Regions from separate parts of the Homo sapiens genome. Here regions 1 and 3 are each linked to region 2. The links are contacts of gene promoters, found by promoter capture Hi-C in human tissues and cell types (Jung and others, 2019). All regions are on one chromosome and are shown on one strand. Each heading gives the region's core, a stretch centred on a gene start or on the middle of the fragment in contact. The rest is flanking DNA. Distances are from core to core; before and after follow the strand shown.

Region 1 (3,790 bases), core at 507-3,006, 220 kb before region 2:
ATGACTATGTCTGTGCTTTTTTCCTTTCTGGTTTTTTTTTTTTTTTTTTCAGCTTTTTTATAGATCAGAGGTCAAGAATTCCTATTTCTAGAGAAATTCTCAGTCTTTTTCCTGACCTGAATTACCTGCTTCTTGGTAGAGAGGGTTCAAACACGCTGGTATTTAGGCATTTATCAGGCTATTGTCATTTATATTTTTTTCTTCAAAGTACTGTATTAAGTCCTTAGTAAGGAATAAGGACTGTGTATATAAATAAACTATCTCTGCAACACAAAGGATTTATATTGATAGTCTCTTATTTTCTTCATCTGTAAAATGGAGCTGATCCTATCTACCTCAGAGTTTGGGGGCCTTCAATTAAATGAGGTAATAAAGTCAATATATTAATTGATATTCTTTTCTGCAAATCAGTCAATGAGTTTTGCATAGTTTAACTTCTAAAATACCTGGTGGTTAATGCCACAAATATTCTCTACTCAACAGAGTGATCAGATTGTTTTACATTTTTTAGCTCCATGAAATTTCTCTGTGAGGCTTCTAAAACCGAAAAATCCACTCTAGTCCACCCTAGCTTGAAAGTCATAGATTTGTATCTCTGAAAGCACATCTGGTGGTGGGGGATGGAATATGTTTTAAGGTTTAAAGGTTGTTTTTACAAAGAAATTTTGGAGTCCCTAAAATTTCAGCTTCTCTCATAATTGGAAAATACGTGTTGTATCTTGAGCTCAGATATGTAATATTGAGTTGATAAATGTAATAATGAGTTGATAAATGGGCATCTGGAAGCAGAAGTAAGAAGGTGAGAAAGAGAAGAAGAAAGGGTGAGAGAGGAAGACTGTGGGTTAAAAGAATCAGGACCTGACGCTAATCTGTATGTGAGCCTGTTTAAACTGTCCAATCCAGAGGACCCATGGTACATTTCTGTTGGCCAAAATCTCTCCCTCAGCAGGGACAATTTCTGGCCTGGCTGACACCACCACCCCCTGCATTAAAGCCTGTGAGTGGCCGTGGTTACAAATGGGAGCTGTTTTACAAAAGACTGAAGGAAACTGCCATTCACCAAACCATACAGAGGGCCAGGCTCCATGTTCGTTACATTCTGCCTTCATCATCTCATTCAACCCAAAACAGTGACAGACATTTATTTTTACATCCATTTCAAATAAAAGGAAATTTGAAAAGCACGCCGTCACTTCCCATCAGATTATCTTACTCTCCTCCTAGGAAGATAGATCTGCTTTACCACTCCTCTTGCCTTCGCACTCCAGGCATGGATTTCTTTTCTGTATATCCCCCTGGGCAAGGAAATTATCGAGCTGACTTCTTGTATCATGAAAGCATTACCGTTTATTATTTTCCAGATGTAATGCAGCATCAAATAATGGTTTTCCAAATCACACACAGTTTTTTTCTGTTCTACTCACCCATATGCATATGCACACACAGAGAGACACTGATCTATGCCCTTAGGCTGTTTTCTCCCAATGAGAGTCACTGATGTAGGAGAGAGAGGCAGACTCATAAACAAAACAAGAGAAGGAAAAGTATAAAATTGTGTGGTTACCACCCCCCAGTTCCAGAGAAGCAGTAAGAGACTTCTGAATGCTTCCAAGGCAATGGCAGCATGGGGGAAGAAGGAGGTGACACCCACCTTCACCCTGAAGTTGATCCATCTTGAGCACTAGCTCTCAAAGTGCTGTTCCCAGGCCAGCAGCAGCACCTGGGAACTTGTTAGAGATGTCAGTTATTGGACCCTACTGTAGGTGCCCTGAATCCAAATGTGAGGGTGGCTCCCCCACAGTCTGTGATCCCATAACCCCCCAAGTGATTCCAATGCACACTCAAGTTTCCAACCACTGGCCTGAAGCCCCATCCAAACGTTTAAATTCTAGAAGTACACAGAGGTTTCATTATGAAGTGTTTTCTATTCAACTCTTCAAAAATGAACCTGTGGACAGGTTCTACATCACATCTTCTCACGGCGTAGCTCCTCAACTTTTTTAAACAAAGACTTCATTTTAATGTAGTTTATATCCTTAGTGTCTTGTGCTGGTCCTAAACCTAATGGGTTGAGTCCAAGAATAAGGACATTGTGAGGATGCCTTCACACATGTATGGGTACACGTATTTGTTTCTCTGTAGGTGGTCAGAGCTTAATGTCTTTATTGACATTTTCTAGGATGATAACATTTGCCTCCAAGATGCCCAGCAGCCCTAGACATTGTCTGGGTCTGGATACTGTACAAGCTCTCAAATACAATCAGTGGGGAACACCCTTTAGCCAACTACGCTACACATATGGCCACTATGGCAGCCAGGTGTGATAAGATGAGTGATTCAGAAACCCCGTAAGTTTGAATTATAATCATAGAGGGAAGGGGATTCAATATTCCAGCTCCAGTTCTTGGTGTTCCTTGTATTCAGACTTTATATCACTCTAGCAGATGAAAATGCACTCACCTGGCTGGCACGCTTAGCCACTCCCCTGGGACTTTTTCCTCAGGATGTTTTTAAACAGCTTTCAAAACAGAACAGACTGCAGGGGAATTAGGAACATTTTGGGGACCTGTGTATTTTGCTTGGAAGCCTGTAGTTTTCACTGTCAGAAACTAACTTGTTTCTTCTATTAGACTATTTTTTTTCTTTATGGTGGCCTCTCTATATTTTATCCATCTTTGTATACCCCCTAGCATAGCTCCTGCAGGTACAGCCCTTTGGCCTCCCCAAATGAAATTGTTGGGATGGCCTAGAGTTGTGAAGTGTGTTATTTAAGTAGAGTGGCACAGGACTCTGACACAGGCTGGCCATCATAAAGCAGCACATTTTTGGCTGGAAAAAATTCCAAAGAGAAAATAAAGTACAGAAGCACCTTTTCTTACCTATGGGGCCAAACCATGAGTTGAATTGGTATTTTAGAGAAATACCTTTTCTGATCTTATTCTGACCTGTCTGCCTTTCCTGAATTGAAGGAGTTTCAGCAAGCTTGAAAGATGTCACTCTGGAAAAGACCAGCTTTTGCCGTGGGAAAGCCACAGGGAGGCAGCCTTTTTTAACTACTGTGAATTGGTCGTTTTCTTCTCTTTCTCTCTCTTTTTGCCTTCAGAGGACATCTTCTTTCCACCTTCTTTCCTCCACACCACTCAACCCTGTTCATTTCTACCTGTTTCATTTGCATATGATCAGTTTGTTATTTTATTTATTTATTTTTTTTGCCATTGTTGAACCCAAGGTTTTCTCTGCAGTGGGTATTAGATAGTGTCTGACATTATTTGCTTTCATAATAATTTGACAATATTTACATCCAGGATTCTAGCCTGGTTGAATAATGTGCTTTTTGAATACAAGTCAGGTGTCATTTTCTTGGCATTTTGTTCAAAACTGTGTTATTTTTATTTAGTCCAATGTGCACCTTTGTCATTGTTTTGATTGCCTGTTGAGTAGACTGATTCAAGGGTCGGTCACCTCTTTCCTACCTCATCTGAAGTTTGTTGATTTTTTTTTTGTTCTGATCCTATTGCATTGTAGTTTTCAATGTGAGAAATTAACTTGTTTCTTCTATTAGACTATTGTTTTCTTTATGGTGGCCCCTGTATATTTTATCCATCTTTATTTTCCCCCAGCATAGCTCCTGCAGGTACAGCAAAGGACCAGTAATTGAATGTACACATAAAAGAATTGATGTTCCACCTCGTTTCCTGAATATGACTGTTCCACTTATTTATTGCTATGTAACCAACTATCTCAACACTTTGAGGCTTAAAATAACAATTTAATTTTTCTCACAATTTTA
Region 2 (3,761 bases), core at 1,242-3,741:
ATGGAATCAGTGCCATGCTCTTGAAATAATGTACTAAGTCTTAGAAGTTGATGATAATATATATTTTTTAAAATCCCAACTGAAGTTTTTGTGAAGTTCGTTGTCCTGGTCCTCAAATTGTTTGTGGGTACACTCTGTAAACCTACAACAGGGCCTGCCAAAAAATCGGAGGGTTCCTCCTCATCTCCATCTCACAAATCTCAATTTGATGGAAATGTTCATTTTAGTGTAATTTCAGATTCGTTGCCAGAGATTCAGGTGATAGTAATAAGTGTCATTCTGCTTCTGCTGAAAAATGAAAAGGGTCCTGAAGTGTGGACACTGATTGGGAGTGTGACATTGTATCAGAAATGACCGAATTCTATTCCCAATACCAGTTTTTCCTTCCAGACATTTCTTTAGATTGTCTTTTACTTAGTGCTTCTCTATGATCCTGAATATTATTTGATTTTTATCTTCTTGCTCTTTTTATTAAAATCTGGGCACTCTAAAAATGAAAACAAATTTCTATTTGCAATGTTCACTTTTAAAAATAAAATTAATGGTGCTACGAAGAATTCTTTTTAATATCCTTTTTTTTCTACAAAGACTGTTTATATGTAAGGATAAATTCTATTTTAAAGGTTATGTGTATTTTTTCTAGATGTGAACTATTTATAATTACTTATGTACAGGAGCTTGTAAACTAGGCCCAATAGAAATATTTTTAGGATCTATATGGCTACTTTAGCACATAATTGTTTCTTTAAAGAGTATTGTATGATCAGTGTTATTTGGTTAATTTGTGCAATTTGTTTTATTTTATCTTAAATGAAAATTATGTAAAATGTCCTTGTCTTTCAGACTTTAAAAAATCTTTTTGTTTCCTTTCTGAATAAAAGTTATATCACATTTGCACCCTCTGAAAACAGAAAATAACTTGCTCAAGGACCTTTTGGCCCAGTCAGTTACTTGAATCATGACTCACACGTGCTCTTACAATGGGTTCCCAGAAGGAATAAATAAATTGGCCCTTTTGCTCCAGAGATAGTAATTTAGCCAATTGTAAGATCAGAGTCTGCAGACAGGTGAGTAATGGTCAAAGCATTTCAGTCTCCCCGAGGGGTTAACCAAATAGAAATGAAAGAAGGGGGAGAGGGAGGGAGGGAGGGAGAGAAGGAGCCTGAGGCAGATATGGAACGATCTCTGCAGAGGAATTACAAAGAAAGTCATTTAAGCCCCTTTACAGACCAGCTCTGCTGGGAGGATGCAGAAATAAATGATCAGCGTCCCGGCGTGAGAGAGCTGCCCCCAGAAGTGGCCGGGGGAGAAAAGGGTGAAGAGGAGCTAAAGCTTAGGAGGCGATTTCCACGGAAATGGATGCTCCCTAAGGATGTGCGGAAAGGGGATGGGAATGTGCGGATTGGGGGCGGGGGCACCAACGCACTCCGGCGGGCAAGCGGTCTCCCGCACCACCTGCTGCAAGGCTCGGGAAGGAAGGCGAAGATAGCACCGGGGCATCCCCGGGAGTCCGCAAGGTGGGTCACTTGGACTTTGCGGAAAGAAGACGAATTTGAGGGGTGTGGGGAGCAGCCAGAGGCCGAGTCCGAGGCTGGGATGGCCTTTCAGGAGAGGACGTGGGAGTATGTGCTAATAATCGGTGGCTTTGGGGAAAGCAGAATGGAGCCGGCTGGCGTTTGGGAGACAAGGAATGGAGGAGAACAACCCTCTTCCTCACCCTGATTTGCTTTCTGGTAGGACCTCACGGCAGGTGTCCCCGGGACGGCGTTCTCCTAGGCTAGGCGACCAGGGCGGTGTCAATGCACCCTCCAGCGGTGCGCGCAGGCGGGAGAAGGGAGGGCGGCCCGGGCAAGTGAGACAGTTAAGGCAGTGTCCCCACCACACCCCCACCCAGATTGGCCACGCCGAGCTGGTTCTTGACAGAAGGCCTTCGCGGAGGAAGAGGGGGCACAGCTGCACAGGACACCCTACGGAGCCTGCGGGCGTGGAACTTTGCCAGGCGCACGGGAACGCGCGCCCTTCCTGTCAGCCTCCCGGGGCGCCAGGCTCCCGCGGCCCGCAGCGGGACAGCCTCAGTTGTGTGGGCTGGACCCAGTCGCTGGGGTACCGACCAGTCCTGGAAGGCGCAGAGGACGTGGAGTGGGGAGGCTGCCTTCCTATGTGCGAAGGGCCAGCCGGGCACGCAGTCCTCAGACCCTAGTCCGCACCCGGCAGGTCCCCACGGCACCTGCTGCGCCCTCCTCGCCGCTCCCCCAACCTCCCCATCTCAGAAAACTACCAGTTCTCTCCCGCCCCCCGGCGCCCCTTTCCCAGGAACGTGCGGAGGCGGGAGAAGAGGAAGACAGGAAGGGGGTGGGGATGTGAAGCGACCGTCCCAGCCTTCCCCGCCCGCCACCCCCACCCCAACTCGGCAGCCGTCACGTGATGCCTGGAGTGGGAGGTGGGGAGAAAAGGCGAGACTTTTGTGGGTGCTCCCGATCGCCAGTAGTTCCTTCAGTCTCAGCCGCCAACTCCGGAGGCGCGGTGCTCGGCCCGGGAGCGCGAGCGGGAGGAGCAGAGACCCGCAGCCGGGAGCCCGAGCGCGGGCGATGCAGGCTCCGCGAGCGGCACCTGCGGCTCCTCTAAGCTACGACCGTCGTCTCCGCGGCAGCAGCGCGGGCCCCAGCAGCCTCGGCAGCCACAGCCGCTGCAGCCGGGGCAGCCTCCGCTGCTGTCGCCTCCTCTGATGCGCTTGCCCTCTCCCGGCCCCGGGACTCCGGGAGAATGTGGGTCCTAGGCATCGCGGCAACTTTTTGCGGATTGTTCTTGCTTCCAGGTGAGAATACCCAGAGGCCAGCAGCCGAGGCCAGGTGCGCACAATCCATCTACCCGCCAGCCCTTTTGCCCCCAAGGCGCCCACCTCGGGGCCAGCCCTGCGCTGGGGCTGCCCAGCGGGAGTTGGCGGCCGCGACTGGTGCCCCGGGGCGCGAGGCTGGGAAAGTGTCCAAGTCCCGCGCTGCAGGAGGAGAGCGGGGAGCGGCGGGTTTGCGGGACTCCGGGCTGCAGCTTGTCCGGCTGCACCGTCGGGAGAAGCTGGGCTTGAGAGGAGGGAGGGTCCGAGCGGTGCTGGGTTCTGGGCGAGGGAGAGGGGGCGACATCTCCCGAACCCTGCCAAGTTGTCTGGCGCCTCCGGCACCCCGTGGGAGTGGCGCCGCCGACAGGTGAGCGATGCGCGAGGCAGCCTGCGGCCACGCTGAAGCTGGGTTGCTGCGCTCAGAGTGCGATAGATGTGGGGCTGCGGGAGCGTGGGTAGTTGGGTCTAGACAGGAGCGCGTACACCGAGAACAGCCAGGCCGAAGCGTCCAGAGGCGCAAAGGTCTCGCGTCCTCTCTCCAGTTCGCCTACTGGCTCCCGACTAAGCTCTGCAGAGCTGGAACCCCGACCACTGACCCTAGTCGAACGGTTGTCCTGAAAGCCGGGGCCTGGAAGAAAGGGCTGCGGGGTCGGGGATCCAGGGTGCGCGCGCTCACAAACGCCCTTTCCCACCCTCTGTGGCCATTCGGGTCGCCGCGGGGACGGCCCCGGAGAAGGGCCGCCGACCCGGGCTCGGGGACTTGCGGCGCAGCAGCGCTTGGCGTCTGGCACCTCCACCCAAGTTGTTCCCAGGTGGTCGCTCAGGGATCCTCAGAGCCCTGGCACAGAAACGCTGACTTTAAAAATTAAATAAATAAAAACTAAAAAGACGTCTGCGAATGTAATCACGAATGGTGCCAAAATAGTAA
Region 3 (3,358 bases), core at 93-2,592, 150 kb before region 2:
TGAGTCATCAGTCTTGCTGTGCACATGTTAAACACTCAGGAGACCTTGCTGATGGACCAGCCACCATCTCAAACATTGCCAGTCACTAGGCCAGCAAGATGAAAGCTCTGAGGGGGTTTCACATCTGTATTTAAAATGCTCTTGCTTGAAGCATTCCATCCACAATTCATTAGCCAGAACTAGTCACAGGGCCCCACCCAACCACAGAGGGGTCAGGAAGCACAACTGATGAACATACTCCCAAAAGGAAAGAGAGCTAGATTTATGTGATAGGCAGCACTTGTGACCACCATACACAATCAATATTCTTCTCCCTTCTTTCTTCTACTTCAGAGATTAGAAAGCCAAATATGCTATTTCTCAGCCTCCTTTTCTCCTAGTTCTGGCCTATGAGACCTAAAAGGAAATCTGCCATAGAGATTTATGACAAAACTTATGTTACCTGATAAAGGAGGGACAGATATGGCTCTAGATGTTCTTCATCCCCTCTTAACCCTTCTCTCTATCTGGAAGGTGGAAGCAATGCCAGGATGTGCAGCAGTCATCTTGGCATGAGCCCCTAGTAAAAGAGGGCAGAGCAGAGCAGAAAGATGGGAAGAGTTTAGTTCCTTGACAAGATCAATGAACTGTTACACAAGCCCTGGACTGCCTACCTCTGGACATTTGGCTATGTAAGAAATATAAATCCCTATAAGCTGAAGTAACTGTTAAGTGAGGCTTTCTGTTTTTTGTTTGTTTGTTTTTGCAGCTGAATGAAATCCTGAGATATTCCTTATTTATTCTGAACTTCAAGAGGAAAACATTCACATCCAAAAAGATGTATTACCCACAGTCACCCCAATACATTTGGGAGCTCCAGTGTTAGGTGCATATATATTTAGGATTCTGATATTTTCCTGTTGGATTATTCCTTTTATCATTATATAATGTCCCTCTTTTGTCTTTTTTACTGTTGTTGCTTTAAAGTATGTTTTGTCAGCTTGCTTTTGGTTTCCATCTGCATGGAGTATATTTTTCCACCCCATCCCTTAGGTTTATGTGAGTCCTTATGTGTTAGGTGAGTCTCTTAAAGACAGCAGATACATGGTTGATGGATTTTTATCCATTCTGCCATTCTGTATCTTTTAAGTAGAGCATTTAGGCTATTTACATTCAACATTAGTATTGAGATGTGAGGTATTGTTCTATTCATCATGTTAGTTGTCGCCTTAATACCTTGGGTTTTTTTTCCATTGTGTTATTGTTTTATAGGCCCTGTGAGATTTATGCTTTAAGGGAGTTCTATTGTGGTGTATTCTGAGGTTTTCTTTGAAGATTTTAAACTCCTTTTAGCATTTTATATAGTGCTGACTGAGTTGTGATGAATTCTCTCGGTATTTATTTATCTGAAAAAGACTTTATCTCTCCTTCATTTATGAAGCTTAGTTTCACTGAATACACATTCCTTGGCTGACAATTATTTTGTTTCAGGAGGCTGAAGATTGGACCCCAATCCCTTCTGGCTTATAAGATTTCTGCTGAGAAGTCTGCTGTTAATTTGATAGGTTTTCATGTATAGATTATCTTATGGTTTTGTCTCACAGCTCTTAAGATACTTTCCCTTGTTTTGACTTTAGATAATCTGATGACTATGTGCCTAGGTGATGATCTTTTTGCAATGAATTCCCTAGGTGTTATTTGAGCTTCTTCTATTTGAATGTCTAGATCTCTATAGCAAGGCCAAGTCTTCCTCAATTATTCCCACAAATAAGTTTTCCAAACTTTTAGATTTCTCTTCCTCAGGGACATCAATTATTCTTAGGTTTGGCCATTTAACAAAATCACAAATTTCTTAGAGGTTTTGTTCATTTTTTTAAATTATTTTTTCATTGTCTTTGTCTGATTGGGTTAATTCAAAAGCCTTGACTTCAAGTTCTGAAGCTCTTTCTTCTACTTATCCTAGTCTATTGTTGAAACTCTCCCTGCATGTTGCATTTCTCTAAGCATGTCTTTCATTTCCAGAAGTTGTGATTGTTTTTCTTTATGATATCTATTTCTCTGGATAATTTTGTATCCATTTCCCATTTTTTTTATTTCTTGAAGTTGATTTTCACCTTTCTCTTGTATCTCCTTGAGTAGCTTAATAATCAACCTTCTGAATTCTTTATCTGGCAATTCAGAGATTTCTTCTTAGTTTGGATCCATTGCTGGGGAGCTGGTGTGATCTTTTGGGCTTGTTATAGAACCCTGTTTTGTCATATTACCAGAATTACTTTTCTGGTTCTTTCTCATTTGGGTAGACTAATTCAATGGAGAGGCCAGACCTACTGGCCAAGCCTGCTGTTCAGATTCTCTTGTCCCACGGGGTGCTCCCTTGATGTGCTCTCCCCTTACCCCTGGGAATGGGGCTTCCTGAGAGCTGGACTGCAGTGACTGTTGTTGCTCTTCTGGGTCTATCCATGCAGCAGGGCTATCAGGCTCCAGGCTGGTGCTGTGGAATGTCTCCAAAAAGTCCTGTGATGCGGTCCATCTTCAGGTCTCTCAGCCATGGAAACCAGTACCTGCCCTGGTAGAGGTGGCAGGGGAGTGAAGTGGACTCTGTAAGTGTCCATGGTTATACGTATGTTCAATGTGCTGGCTTTCTTGAATACTGGTTATGCTAGCAGTGAAGTTGTCACATGGACACCCTCAGGACCTCTGGTTAGCCAAGGTGTTGCAGGCAGTGGAATCAAGTTTTGTCTTCTTCCTGGGATCAAGGTGATTCTGTCCTGAGTTGCTGTAATGGCCTGAGTTTGTTGGCCTCCAGCCAGGAGGTGGCACTTTCAAGAGAGCAGCAGCCAAGATGCTAGTAGGGGACTCTAAGCTTGCCCTAAGATGGCCAGAGTATTTTGGTTTTTCAGGTAATGGGTGGGGCCATAAAGCTCCCAAGAGTTTCTATGTTTTGTGTTCAGCTACCAGGGCAGGTAAGGAAGTACTACCCAGTCAGGGCAGGGTTAGGCAGGTGTGGGCTCAGACTCTCCTTGGGTGGAGCTTGCCACGGCCACTGTGGGGCATGGGGGAGTGATTCTCAGGCCAATGGGGTTATGTTCCAGAGGGGATGTTGGCTGTCTCTGCTGTGTTATATAGTTCACCAGGGAAGTGGGGGATAGCCTCACCCAGCTCCCAGGCAGTTGGTGAGGTGGGTCTCACTCCTGCAGTTCCCCACTCACACTTTGCCCCAGACTGTGAGCTACCCAGCTGAGAAAGCAAGCATGGCTTTCAGACCTCTCCCCTTCCTGTCTGTCCACTCTGTCCGCAGTAGCTCCTTCGCTAGCTCACTCCTATCCACAACAGCTCCTGCTGGTCCCCTGGACTCCACTCAAGAGAATTTGTGCCCAGT

The links. Contacts are between HindIII fragments. The study calls those that stand out against the background at their distance.
Region 1: a fragment that was not itself captured here is called in contact with the fragment with the promoter of LYPD1 in region 2 in 2 of the 25 tissues and cell types used here (mesendoderm cells and thymus).
Region 3: a contact is called between a fragment that was not itself captured here and the fragment with the promoter of LYPD1 in region 2, in 1 of the 25 tissues and cell types used here (mesendoderm cells).

What each region holds. Positions count from the first base shown.
Region 1 is chr2:132,889,257-132,893,046 of GRCh38, reverse strand. All of the region lies in intron 8 of NCKAP5 (NCK associated protein 5), which reads left to right. Among named protein-coding and RNA genes, the nearest start is that of NCKAP5-AS1, 24 kb to the left of the region's middle. The HindIII fragment of the contact is 4,819 bases long and covers 1-3,790 here.
Region 2 is chr2:132,668,935-132,672,695 of GRCh38, reverse strand. It overlaps LYPD1 (LY6/PLAUR domain containing 1), which reads left to right and starts at 2,491. Exons shown (of 3, transcript NM_144586.7): 1 at 2,491-2,815. The coding sequence starts at 2,764. It overlaps NCKAP5 (NCK associated protein 5), which reads left to right. Exons shown (of 20, transcript NM_207363.3): 20 at 1-908. RefSeq lists an enhancer at 2,665-3,628. The HindIII fragment of the contact is 6,763 bases long and covers 1-3,761 here.
Region 3 is chr2:132,821,516-132,824,873 of GRCh38, reverse strand. All of the region lies in intron 11 of NCKAP5 (NCK associated protein 5), which reads left to right. Among named protein-coding and RNA genes, the nearest start is that of NCKAP5-AS1, 92 kb to the left of the region's middle. The HindIII fragment of the contact is 4,902 bases long and covers 1-3,358 here.